Regions from separate parts of the Homo sapiens genome. Here region 1 is linked to region 2. The links are contacts of gene promoters, found by promoter capture Hi-C in blood cells and fetal thymus (Javierre and others, 2016). All regions are on one chromosome and are shown on one strand. Each heading gives the region's core, a stretch centred on a gene start or on the middle of the fragment in contact. The rest is flanking DNA. Distances are from core to core; before and after follow the strand shown. Region 1 overlaps C1orf174 (chromosome 1 open reading frame 174). Region 2 holds the start of CEP104 (centrosomal protein 104).

The links. Contacts are between HindIII fragments. The CHiCAGO score rates a contact against its expected background, and 5 or more counts as called.
Region 1: a fragment that was not itself captured here is called in contact with the fragment with the promoter of CEP104 in region 2 in 1 of 17 cell types (megakaryocytes); the score reaches 5.8 in megakaryocytes.

What each region holds. Positions count from the first base shown.
Region 1 is chr1:3,892,946-3,898,460 of GRCh38, reverse strand. It overlaps C1orf174 (chromosome 1 open reading frame 174), which reads left to right. Exons shown (of 4, transcript NM_207356.3): 2 at 5,465-5,515. Among named protein-coding and RNA genes, the nearest start is that of C1orf174, 4.6 kb to the left of the region's middle. The HindIII fragment of the contact is 8,006 bases long and covers 1-5,515 here.
Region 2 is chr1:3,853,758-3,859,416 of GRCh38, reverse strand. It overlaps CEP104 (centrosomal protein 104), which reads left to right and starts at 2,206. Exons shown (of 22, transcript NM_014704.4): 1 at 2,206-2,528. DFFB (DNA fragmentation factor subunit beta) reads right to left here and starts at 1,941. Exons shown (of 7, transcript NM_004402.4): 1 at 1,700-1,941; 2 at 573-699. The coding sequence starts at 1,813. RefSeq lists silencers at 1,060-1,109, 2,040-2,539 and an enhancer at 1,720-1,899. The HindIII fragment of the contact is 29,508 bases long and covers 1-5,659 here.

The DNA of each region.
Region 1 (5,515 bases), core at 2,243-4,742, 38 kb before region 2:
TCTCGGCCCACTGCAACCTCTGCCTCCCGGGTTCAAGTGATTCTCACCTCAGCCTCTGGAATGGCTGGGATTACAGGAGGCTGCCACTACGCCCGGCTAATTTTTGTGTTTTTACTGGAGACAGGTTTTCACCATGTTGGCGAGGCTGGTCTAAAACTCCTGACCTCAGGTGATCACTGCCTCAGCCTCCCAAAGTGGTGGGATTACAGGCATGAGCCACCATGCCCAGCCCATTTTTGAAGTATAGCTTTGCTGGATATAGGATTCTTGGTTGACAAGTTTATTTGAGCATGTTGAATATGTTTGAATATTCTCCATTGTTTCAGTCAGTTCATTTATTGAGGTTCCCTTCTAAGTGGCTTTCTTCTTGGGGCTTTCAAGGTTTTGTTCTCTTTCAAGATTTTGCCTTTGATCTTTGTATTTTTACAGTGATGTGTCTGTGGATCTCTTTGCATGTATCCTATTTGGAGTTCTGTTCATTAAGATTCCTGGATATGGGGCCAGGCACGGTGGCTCACGCCTGTAATCCCAGCACTTTGGGAGGCTGAGGCAGGCGGATCACAAGGTCAGGAGATTGATACCATCCTGGCTAACACAGTGAAACCCTATCTCTACTAAAAATACAAAAAATTAGCGGGGCGTGGTGGCGGGCGCCTGTAGTTCCAGCTACTTGGGAGGCTGAGGCGGGAGAATGGCATGAACCTGGGGGGCGGAGCTTGCAGTGAGCCAAGATTATGCCACTGTACTCCAGCCTGGGCGATAGAGTGAGACTCCGTCTCAAAAAAAAAAGATTCCTGGATATATAGGTTAATGTTTTTCTGTAAATTTGAGAAGTTCTCAGCCATTATTTCTTCAAATATTTTTTCTGCTCCTTTCTCTCTGCATTCCTGGTGGTTCTTATTTTGTGTATGTTAGTGCACTTAATGATGTCCAGCATTTCTCTGCAGCTTGCTTTATTTTTCTTCGTTCTTTTTTTCTCTGTGTTCTTCAGCATGCATAATCTATCGATCTGTCTTCAAGTTTGCTTATCCTGCCAGTTCAGTTCTACTATTAAGCCCTTCTAGTGAATTTTGTTATTTCAGGTTTTGTACTTTTCTACTCCAGAATTTCCATTTGGTTTTTAAGTAATTTATCTTTATTGATAGTCTCTTTGATGCAGCATTATCTTATGTTTCTTCTTTATTCATGATCTTGATATTGTTTATCATGGCTACCTTGGTCCTTTATATATGTATAAATCCAACATCTGGTCACTCTCACAGACAGCTTCTGTGGCCTGCTTTTATTCCAGTGTATGAGCCTACTTTTCTTTTTCTTTGAGTGCTTCATAATTTTTTGTTGGAATTATGCCTTCATAATTTTTTTGACATTTTAGATAATACATTTTAGCAATTCTGGGTACTGTCCCCAACCCTGGGGCTTGTCATTGTTAATATGCTTATTTGTTTAGCAACTGGGTAGATTGTTTTGATAAAGTATATTTCCCCTGCCACAGTGTTCAGCCTGTGATGTTGCTGGTGGGGGGTGGCACCCAGCCACTCTGGATGACAGTGGTTTTAGTGAGGTCCTTTTCCTCTTTCCCTGACCACATCCAGCTGTTGAACTTCGCTAATGCCAGGTTATTGTGCTGTTCTCAGCAACAGCCTGGGCATAAGTTGCTCTACAAACTAATCCAATCAAATTGTGGCTTCTTCGAAGGGATACTTTCTAAGGTCAGTGTTTGGTTAGTTTGTTCTGTGTCCAAGAGGCCTCCTCCCAGCCGTGTTAGTCTCTGGTTCTCTTCTGCGAACTGGTTGGCCTACAATTTGGCCTATTGCTTGATTCTCCACTGCCTCCACCCCCTTCGTCACAGCATCCACGGTACTTGAACAGCTCCCTTAGGCCGGAACTTCTCCACATTCCATGGCAGGGAATTTGGTGCCTTTGGGCAGGTGTAAGAGCTGTCTGTTTAGTTGCCTGCCTCTCATCCCAGGCAGAGCCTCTGAGCCAGGGCCTGCAGCTGAGGACAGTAATGGGCTCCTCTCTGAATAGGGGCTGGGGGAGCTAGCAGCAGCCTGAGATCCTCCAAATGTGTCTTCCCCAGCCTGGAACCACCTCATATCTAGGACGGGGTTGATGGGGCCCCAGTCTTCTCCGTTCACTGGGCGGAGCCTCTTGCAGAGGCTTAAACCGTACTGGTAGAATGGAGCCAAGGTGAAGCCTTCATTCTACAAATAGGGTCTGAGCAGAAAGGAGGGCCCCTCTTCTCAATCCTACTCACTCAGGACCTGGTCTCAGTCACAGGTGGGATGAGAGCAGAAAGGGAAGCACTGCTATCCTGCCTCTCCTGGGAAGACACCCCGCTGCCTGGGAGCTGGGGAGGTGGCCCTGTGTTCTTGGCTGCAGCAGGATGGAGCTCAAGTGCCACAGACTCTCCGTGTCCTTACCAAATGTATGTAGGTGTTCTGGAGCAAGTGTTTCTTCATTTGCTGGGTGCCCATAGGACCATTTCCAAAGGCTCTCTAAATGGCTGTTTTGGGACTGCTCATTACTCTCTGAGAAGGTCAGTGAAGCTCCTCGAGCCATCATGTTGAAGTCAGTCTCGGCCAGCCCTTTTGGAGAAACCATGTTTGTGCTTCTGACATACCAGTTATTAAACAATCTACTGGAATGAGGAGAATCTCAATGATGAGAAAGTCTTTCCTTTTTTGGACTGTGGGAGCAGTCCAAGCTGCCCAGCTGCAGAGCAGGAATCTGCAAGTGAGACTGTGACCAATTCTTGACATTTTGGAGTTGACACCTTGGAGGTGGTTAATCCATGACGAAACTGAAGCTAAGCCGATCTCATGTTTTGACTCCTGTCAATCCGGAGAGGACAGCAAATGGCCTGCTCAGGTGTCTGTTAACAGCCAGCGCTTCCAGGCCCACCAGATCCTCAGGTGTCTGTTAACAGCCAGCGCTTCCAGCCCAGCAGATCATCTGGCTTTTCTCTGCAGAAGGGGCCAAAAGGTCCACCTGATGAACCTGTTGCACGCGAAAAGTTCAGAACCACTGCTGCCAAGATGCTGACAGAAGCCTTGAGAAGCACCTGCTGCGGGAAAAGACGTGCAGGCGTAGAACACAGAGCGGGTGGCAGCTTCTTCAGTTCAATCCCCACCTCAGGCAGTTGTTGGGGGTCATATCTAGGGTGAGCTGTGGTGATGGAATAGAGATTTGGAAGCCAGGCATCACTCGTATAACCTCATAAGCTCCTTACCCAAGTTGTCCTCATCTGAAATGGGTGTGCCACTCCTTTAAAGCTGTTCAGGCACCGAGCTGGGCTCCCCACACAGCATACTCCAGCACAGAGCAGCAAAGCGCCCGGAGGAGGGCTCACAGCAGGGAGGAGAGGTGGGGCAGTGGCTTTCTAGGTCAGAGATGTCTTTTCCCTACGAGGCACGTGATGGCGTTTTAGGGAGATGGGCTTGTTTAAGACCCAGTGGGAGGATTTTGATGAGAGATGTTTATGGCAACTCTTAGCAAGTTCTGTAACCTCTGTTGCCTCAGTCCCCTTGGTGTAACTGTGACCATGACGTCTGCCGGGGCTCTCAGCAAAGCCCTGCCCTTGTGAGAGGACGGAGGCGCAGCCCCCGGTGTGCTGTGGTAGCAGGCACTTCACCCAGCCTGTGGGCAACTGGCGTGTCCTGTGTACAGCAGGCGGGCGTCCTGGCCTCCGGTGGGCTGCTGCCTGCTCTTCTCCCTCCTGTTTCAGACACACACTCTGACTGCCACAGTATCACAGGACCTTGGAGCTGCCACCCCACAGGGTTTCTGGAGCTGTCTTGGGCTACGGGGTGCATGGCTGAGACAGATTATTTCTTTTTTTTTTTTTTTTTGAGACGGAGTCTTGCTCTGTCACCCAGGCTGGAGTGCGGTGGCGCAATCTCGGCTCACTGCAAGCTCCGCCTCCTGGGTTCACGCCATTCTCCTGCCTCAGCCTCCCAAGTAGCTGGGACTACAGGCGCCCACCACCACGCCCGGCTAATTTTTTGTATTTTTAGTAGAGACGGGGTTTCACTGTGTTAGCCGGGATGGTCTCGATCTCCTGACCTTGTGATCCACCTGCCTCAGCCTCCCAAAGTGCTGGGATTACAGCCGTGAGCCACCGCGCCCAGCCGAGACAGATTATTTCTGTGTTTTATTTTTTTGTTTTTTTCCTTTTTTTATTTCTCTTATCTGCTGTTGGGCAGGGCACTCTTCATCCGTCCCCTTCTGGGTTCCAGTTCTAGGGCCTGTTGGCAGCAGCTCTTGGGCCTTTCCCGGCCATGTCAACCTGCATTGCTCCTGTTTGTTGCTTCTACTACTCACACTCATTCCTTTCGAGTTTTCTAAGTGCAGTGTGGTATTGTGGACTGGATTCTGGAACAGAAAAACGGTTCATGGAGAAACCGATAAAATACAAATAAAATCTATAGTTTAGTGAAGAGTACCGTAATGTCACTAATTTCTTAATGTTGACAATGTCCTGTAGTTGTTTAACATTAGTGGAAGCTGAGTGAAGGCTACATGGCAACTCCCTGTACTATTTTATTATTATTATTTTTTCAGAGACACTGTCTCACTCTGTCACCCAGGTGGAGTGCAGTGGTGCAGTCATAGCTCACTACAGCCTCAGACTCCTGGGATCAAGTGATCCTCTCACCTCAGCCTCCCACATAGCTGGGACTACAGGTGCACACCACCACACCTGGCTAATTTTTAAAAAAATTTTTTAAAGATGGGCTTTCGCTGTATTGCCCAGGCTGGTCTTGAACTCCTGGGCTCGAGCGATCCTCCTACCTCAGCTTCCCAAGTAGCTGGGATTACAGGTGTGAGCTATCACACCAGTTTCTTTGTACTATTTTTTGCAACTTTCTGAATGCCGAAAATTATTCCTAAATAGTTATTTTAAATGTTATGTCTTTAATTAATTTCTTTCTTGTTATTAGAGGAGTTTGCTTTGCATTCAGGATAAAAGAGAGGTGGACCAGTTTGTTAATATTAAAATTTGTGAGACAGTCGCTAGCTGCATTCAGCTAATAGAATAGGAGTCTAATTTGAGGAAGAGAAACTTTGGTTTCCTCATGTTACCTTTTTTTAAAAACTTTGACAACGTATGAAAGTTGGAGAGCCTTCTAAGGAAGGGCATGTGCTGCTTATTCTAAACACTTTGAAGTTGACTTAATTTCCACTAAAGGACAAATGGTGGCTACTAGAAATATACAAGATAAGGGGGACAGATCGTCCCAAGCCTCCAAAATCGTGGAAATAGTAGATCCTGTATCCTAAATCCAGGCACAGTTTCATTTGGATTTACACATTCGGGCCACAGCTGTCTCCACAAAGATGATAAAATCCTGGGAGTGGGAGGGGCGGTCTTCGGGTGTTCTTTAGGTGGGAAATTCTCGTCTACATGTTCATGCTGCCTTCCTGAGAGCACTCTCTGAGTGGCTCTCAATCTCTCTAGCTCACAGGTGCAGTGCGGTCTTCAGCGCGCTTGAAAGCACGAAGTTGTTCG
Region 2 (5,659 bases), core at 957-3,456:
GCGCAGACCTTGGCATTCGGCTGGTTCTGAAAGGCAGGACTTTGTGTCCTGAGGCTTCAATACAGATGCCCCGAAAGAACCACCTCTCAAAGCAATTGCCCCCAAACTTGAGCCCTGAGGACAGCATCTTAGCAAACACCAACCGAGAACAATGTGAGAGCATCCCACGAACCACCACCTCGTCCTTCCAGAAGGGTGCTCAGCCCAGCAGAACAGAACAGCATCTCTTCCTGGCTCCACCTTCCCCATGAAACTGTGCAGGCCCCAACCCCAAAGCCCTCCCTCTGCTCTTGGGAATTGCTAGGACACCTCAAATGAACGCAAATAAAATTAAAAGATTTTTTGAAGAAAAAGACGACCAATTGAACAGCTGGGTTCATGAACGAGAGGACTGAGGACTCTGCCACCTAAGCGACGCTGACCAGTTCTGCCTCCAGAGGGCTTCCTCCTTGAGACCCGAGAGTTCACAGTAAGGGGGACTCTTCCCCACCCTGATGGGCACCTGGAGCTAAGCCCCCAGGACCTCGGAGAGTGCCAGCTTCCCGCCCACCTCCAAAGTCCTTGCCACTCACAGCCCTGCCAGGCCTGGCCCAAGGTGAGCAGCACCAGCTCGGCGTTGTCGGGAACACTGGGGAAGTAATCTTCCGTCAGCTCCGTGCCATCCTCGTACAGGCACAGCCGGGAACCGCGCTCAGGGAGCTGCAGGGACGGGAGAAGCAACAGGAGGAGGAAGGGTCTCAAGACGAGGGCTTTGCATCTGCAGGCCTCACAAACGACCGGAATGAGCTGTGCTTAAAGAAGCAGGCTCAGGCTGCCGCCTGTATGCCACAGTCGCTCCAACGCCCAGGCAAGGATGAGGGAGCGGGAGCAAGGGCGCCTGACTGCGGGCCGTTCTAAAATACGAAGAGTCAGGAAAAACATACATCAGGGGGTGACTGCTGGCTCTGCAGGATTCACCCTTTTTAAATGAGCTCCTGAGGGCGCTTCAAATAGAGCCTGTCTTTGACAGCGCCGCCTCCCTGCTGCCAGGAGCTGAACACCACCATCCCCAGCACACAGCCGCCAGAGCGGTGCTGGCACACGAAGGAGAACGGTTGGTTGCCTCTGTGCACAAGTGTGACCGGCACGTGGCACTGTTAATTTGTTGGAGTCCGGTTCCCTGTTACTCTGCACTGGTCAGTTTTAGGCATTTTATGGCTACTCCCACCCCACCCGCACCGACCCCGGCAATGCACACCTGGTAACCCTAGTACTGGTCTAAAAAGAAAACCAACCTAGAATAAGGTGACGATTGCAATCCCCAGCTGCGAGGGCTGGAAGGGGCCTGCAGAGCCCACCTAGCCAAGCCTTTCATGTTACTCAAGGGGAAGCTGAGGCCGGACAGGCAGAGCAGCCGTGACCCCGCGTGCCAGTACCTGGCACTCTACCCGGGTCTCCTAGCTCTGATGCAGGGCTGTCCTGCCCGAGAGGTGGGAAGAGGGAAGGGGTGATCCAGGTCGTCCCCCAACCCCCCTGCGTTCTGAAGCCACGCTCAGGAACCCCAGGCTGCGGGGGCCCGGGGTCCTAGCGGCTGAGGCGAACGAAAACTACCCGCCCCGGGCGCCGCCTGCACCCTCCGTTTTGGAAGAGGAAAAGCGGCACCTCCTATTCTCCCCACACGCCTCCCCGACGGGCCGTCCCCGCCTAGCCCAGCGGGCACCTGGAAGCGGAGACAGCCCTTGCGCAGCACCTCCTGGCAGCTCCGGCCAGCCACGCCGAACTTCCTCGGGCTGCGCAGGGCCCGCAGCTTCACGCTCTTGGGCTTCTGGAGCATTGCAGATGTCCTCAAGCCCTCTGGGTCCCACAGGCGGTGGCACCTGCTGCCCAGCTGCTCAGATCCGTCCTCGCCCTGGCCGCAGGGGTCTGCACCTGGTGAGCTCTGCAAGCTGGCACAGGCCGGGTGCCGATCCCGGAAACTACATTACCCAGAAGGCCTGGGAAAAGTGAGGCCCGACGCGGTCTTGTGCGCAGGCGTCGCCCCACGGACACCACATTACCTTACTCAGAAGGCTCAGGAAAGCAAAGGCGCGACGCCACCTGGTGTGCCCAGGTGCCGTGGCCCCGGAAACTACACAACCCTGAGGGCCAGAGTAGCGGAGCCCTCCCCTTGTGCGCAGGCGCGGCCTGGGGTGGGGCGGGGTCGCGCACGCGCAGAGGCCCTGGCCCAGGGCTGGGCTTGGTTGTCATGAGAGTGGAGGCTGCGGCCGGGGCTATGGGCAGAGGTGGCCGGGTCTGCTTCTTCCCTGTCACTGCCGCAGCAGCTTGGGGTGCAAGGCGGCCTGGGGCGGCGGAAGGGGCGCCCCCCGAGTTCCGTCTGAGGAAGCGGCGGCTGCCGAGGAAGTCCACGAGAGCCGGGTCCCGCACGCCCCTGGGGTCCGGGTGCTGAGGCGCCGCCTGGCCGCCTCCCCGGGCCGCGGCACCGCTCCGACCCAGCCGCCCTCTCCACCGGGGCCGCGGCAGCGCCAGTCGGGGCCCTTCCCTCTAAGCAGGTACCTTCCGGGCCGCTGCGGCGCCGGCCCAGGGCCGGAGTGGGGAGCGGGGCGCGGGGCGCGGGGCGCGGGCGCCGCGGGGGCGCGGTCCCCACCTGGGAGCTGGGTACGAAGCCTGGGTGCGCGGTGCAAGCGCGGACGGTGTGGAGTTAGATGCCGGCCTTGCTGTCGCCGAAGAGCCGGCGCGGCCCCGTCGTGCCGTATGCCGGGGAGCTCAGCACGGGTGCTGGGACCGCCTGCCCCGGCCGGGACGGCCCATTTAGCGTGGAATATTGTTTTCAGATCCGGCTTTTCCTCTTCTGGATGCGTAGCACATAGGGGGCCAGTTTCAGATGTGTTCTGCTGAGCAAAAGTTTGAGGAAAATTGCTCTGTCCCTATAGAGATTAAAGTCTGATGGTTGGTTGTTTTTTGTTTTGGAGTTTGTTTTGTTTTGTTTGCACTTAAGTTCAGATTTCTCTGAAGCCCTTTCAGTCGCTAAGATGACTTGATCAGAAACCCATAAGCCTTTGAGACGGTCTCGCTCTGTCGCCCAGGCTGGAGTGCAATGGCACGATCTCAGCTCACTGCAGCCTCCGCCTCCCGGGTTCAAGCGATTCTCCTGCCTCAGCCTCCCGAGTAGCCCGACTAATTTTTTTATTTTTAGTAGAGACGGGGTTTCACCATGTTGGCCAGGCTGGTCTCGAACTCCTGACCTCAAGTAATACGCCCTCCTCGGCCTCCCGAAGTGCTGGGATTACAGGCATGAGCCACCGCGCGCAGTCACACTTAAAAGTCTTCTTAAAAAGAAAATCAGAGACAAGTTTTGTTTCCTAGTCTTGTAACAAAATGGAAGTTGCTACACTGAGTTTCCGTTTAATTTATAGTTAATTGCCTTTTACCATGCCAGCACTAGGAAAAGTGTAGTGAGGGATGAGACCGCCATGGAGTCATCGCTGCCTGGGGAGAGATGTACTCTGGCATTTGTCGGGATGTCGATGGCTGCCCCTGGGACAACAGGGATCCCTCATGCCTCTGGTGAGGAAGACCAGCCAATAACTGGATGTTCAACAGAGCTTTGCTTCTTCCCAAATTGTTAATGGTGATTTTTATAGAGCCTAAAAGTGGCATCCTTCAGTGACATTCCAAGTATCTTATGTAACACTTGAAGGTTTACACAGAGGGGACCCTAGGGTACAACTGGAAGGTCTTTGGGAGGGGGTAGACTAAAAAAGGAATCCTTTTCAAATACCAGACTGAGGTAATAGCATTGCCTCCACAGTCCCTGTGCATTTCTCTTAGCTGGTTCTTAAATGCCAGTACTTTGTTTTAGATTTGTTGGGGGCAGTATAGCATACTGGAAACACCCTTCTGTTTGACTGAAAAGGTCCTATATTTATGTCTTCGAGCCGTAACAGAGAGTGTTGGTTAGGTTCAGAGACTAGCCAGGCTCGGCGGCTCACGCCTGTAATCCCAACACTTTGGGACACTAAGGTGGGAGGAGTTCAAGACCAGCCTAGACAACACAGTGAAACCCCATCCCTACAAAAAAAAAAAAAAAAAGTAGCTGTGCATGGTGGCATGTGCCTGTAGTCCTAGCTGCTCAGGAGGCTGAGACAAGAGGATCATTTGAGCCCGAGAGTTCATGGTTACAGTGAGCTATGATCACGCCACTGCAGCAGTACAGCCTGGGCAACAGAGCGAGAACCTGTATTAAAAAAAAAAAAAAAAAAAAAATCGGGGCTGGGCTTATTGGCCACGCCTGTAATCCCAACACTTTGGGAGGCTGAGGCGGGTGGATCACCTAAGGTCAGGAGTTCGAGACCAGCCTGGCCAACATGGTGAAACCCCATCTCTACTAAAAATACAAAAATTAGCTGGGTGTGGTGGTGCGCACCTGTAATACTAGCTACTTGGGAGGCTGAGGCGGGAGAATCACTTGAACCCAGGAGGCAGAGGTCGCAGTGAGCCGCGATCACGCCACTGCACTCCAGCCTGGGTGACAGAGTGAGACCCTCTCTCAAAAAAAAAAAAAAAAAAATTTGGAGACTGGAACCCAACAGCCTGGGCACAAGAGGTATTTTCAAGGTGGAATAGGGAGTGACAAGCCCTGCCCTGAAAGATGATGAAAGGGGCCTGGCATGGTGGCTTATGCCTGTAATCCCAGCACTTTGGGAGGCCAAGGCGGGCAGATTGGCCAGGAGTTCGAGACCAGCCTGGCCAACATGGCAAAACCCCGTCTCTACTAAAATACCAAAAAAAAAAAAAAAAAAAAATTAGCCAGGCATGGTGGTGCATGCCTGTAATCCCAGCTACTTGAGAGGCTGAACCACAAGAATCACATGAACCAGGGAGACAGAGGTTACAATGAGCCCAGATCACGCCACTGCACTCCAGCCTGGGTGATAGATTGAGACTCTTGTCTCAAAAAAGGAAAAAAAGCTGATGAAAGGATTGGAGGGCTTCAGAGCTGAAGGGTATTAACTTTGAGCTTTGATTGTTTGGCTGGACTTCAGAATTCAGGACAAGAAGTGAGGGTCAGGGGAGAGTTGGCGCATTGATCCCTAGATGGGGAGCCCACCAAGAGCTCTGGAGTTAGGACATGGATGGAGATGACTGGAGCTGGGCCTGAGGCACGTTCACACAATAGGAACTTAGGACTTGTCTGAGGGAGGCGCTTCAGGTGGGGACACCAGGTGGTTGCTGTCTAGAAAAGACAGTGGGATCAGAAGGAAGGGCAGGCCTGATAAGACCTGGCACACTGTTGGATGGGGAGTGGGTGAAGAGAGATGCTGTGGCCAAGGGAAAAGTACCTCTAGGCTCAGAGCCCATGCGACCCAGAAGTGCCAGGTCACGAAGGAGTGGGAGCCATGGGCTGTGCGTTTCTGGCATAGGTTGCCCAGAGTGCAGGTGGGGCCGTGCAGCTAACAGTGGGTTAAATCACACTCATCCTTTCAAAATTCTTTTTTTGTTTGGTTTTTTAGAAACGGGGTCTCACTCTCTTACCCAGGCTGGTCTCGAACTCCTGGGCTCAAGTGATCCTTCCACCTCGGTCTCCCAAAGTGCTGAGATTATAGGCAGGAACCACCACACCCAGCCTCATCCTGTTCTGGGGGGCTTTTTAAAAATTATTTTCTGAGTTGGTTTAGTTTTG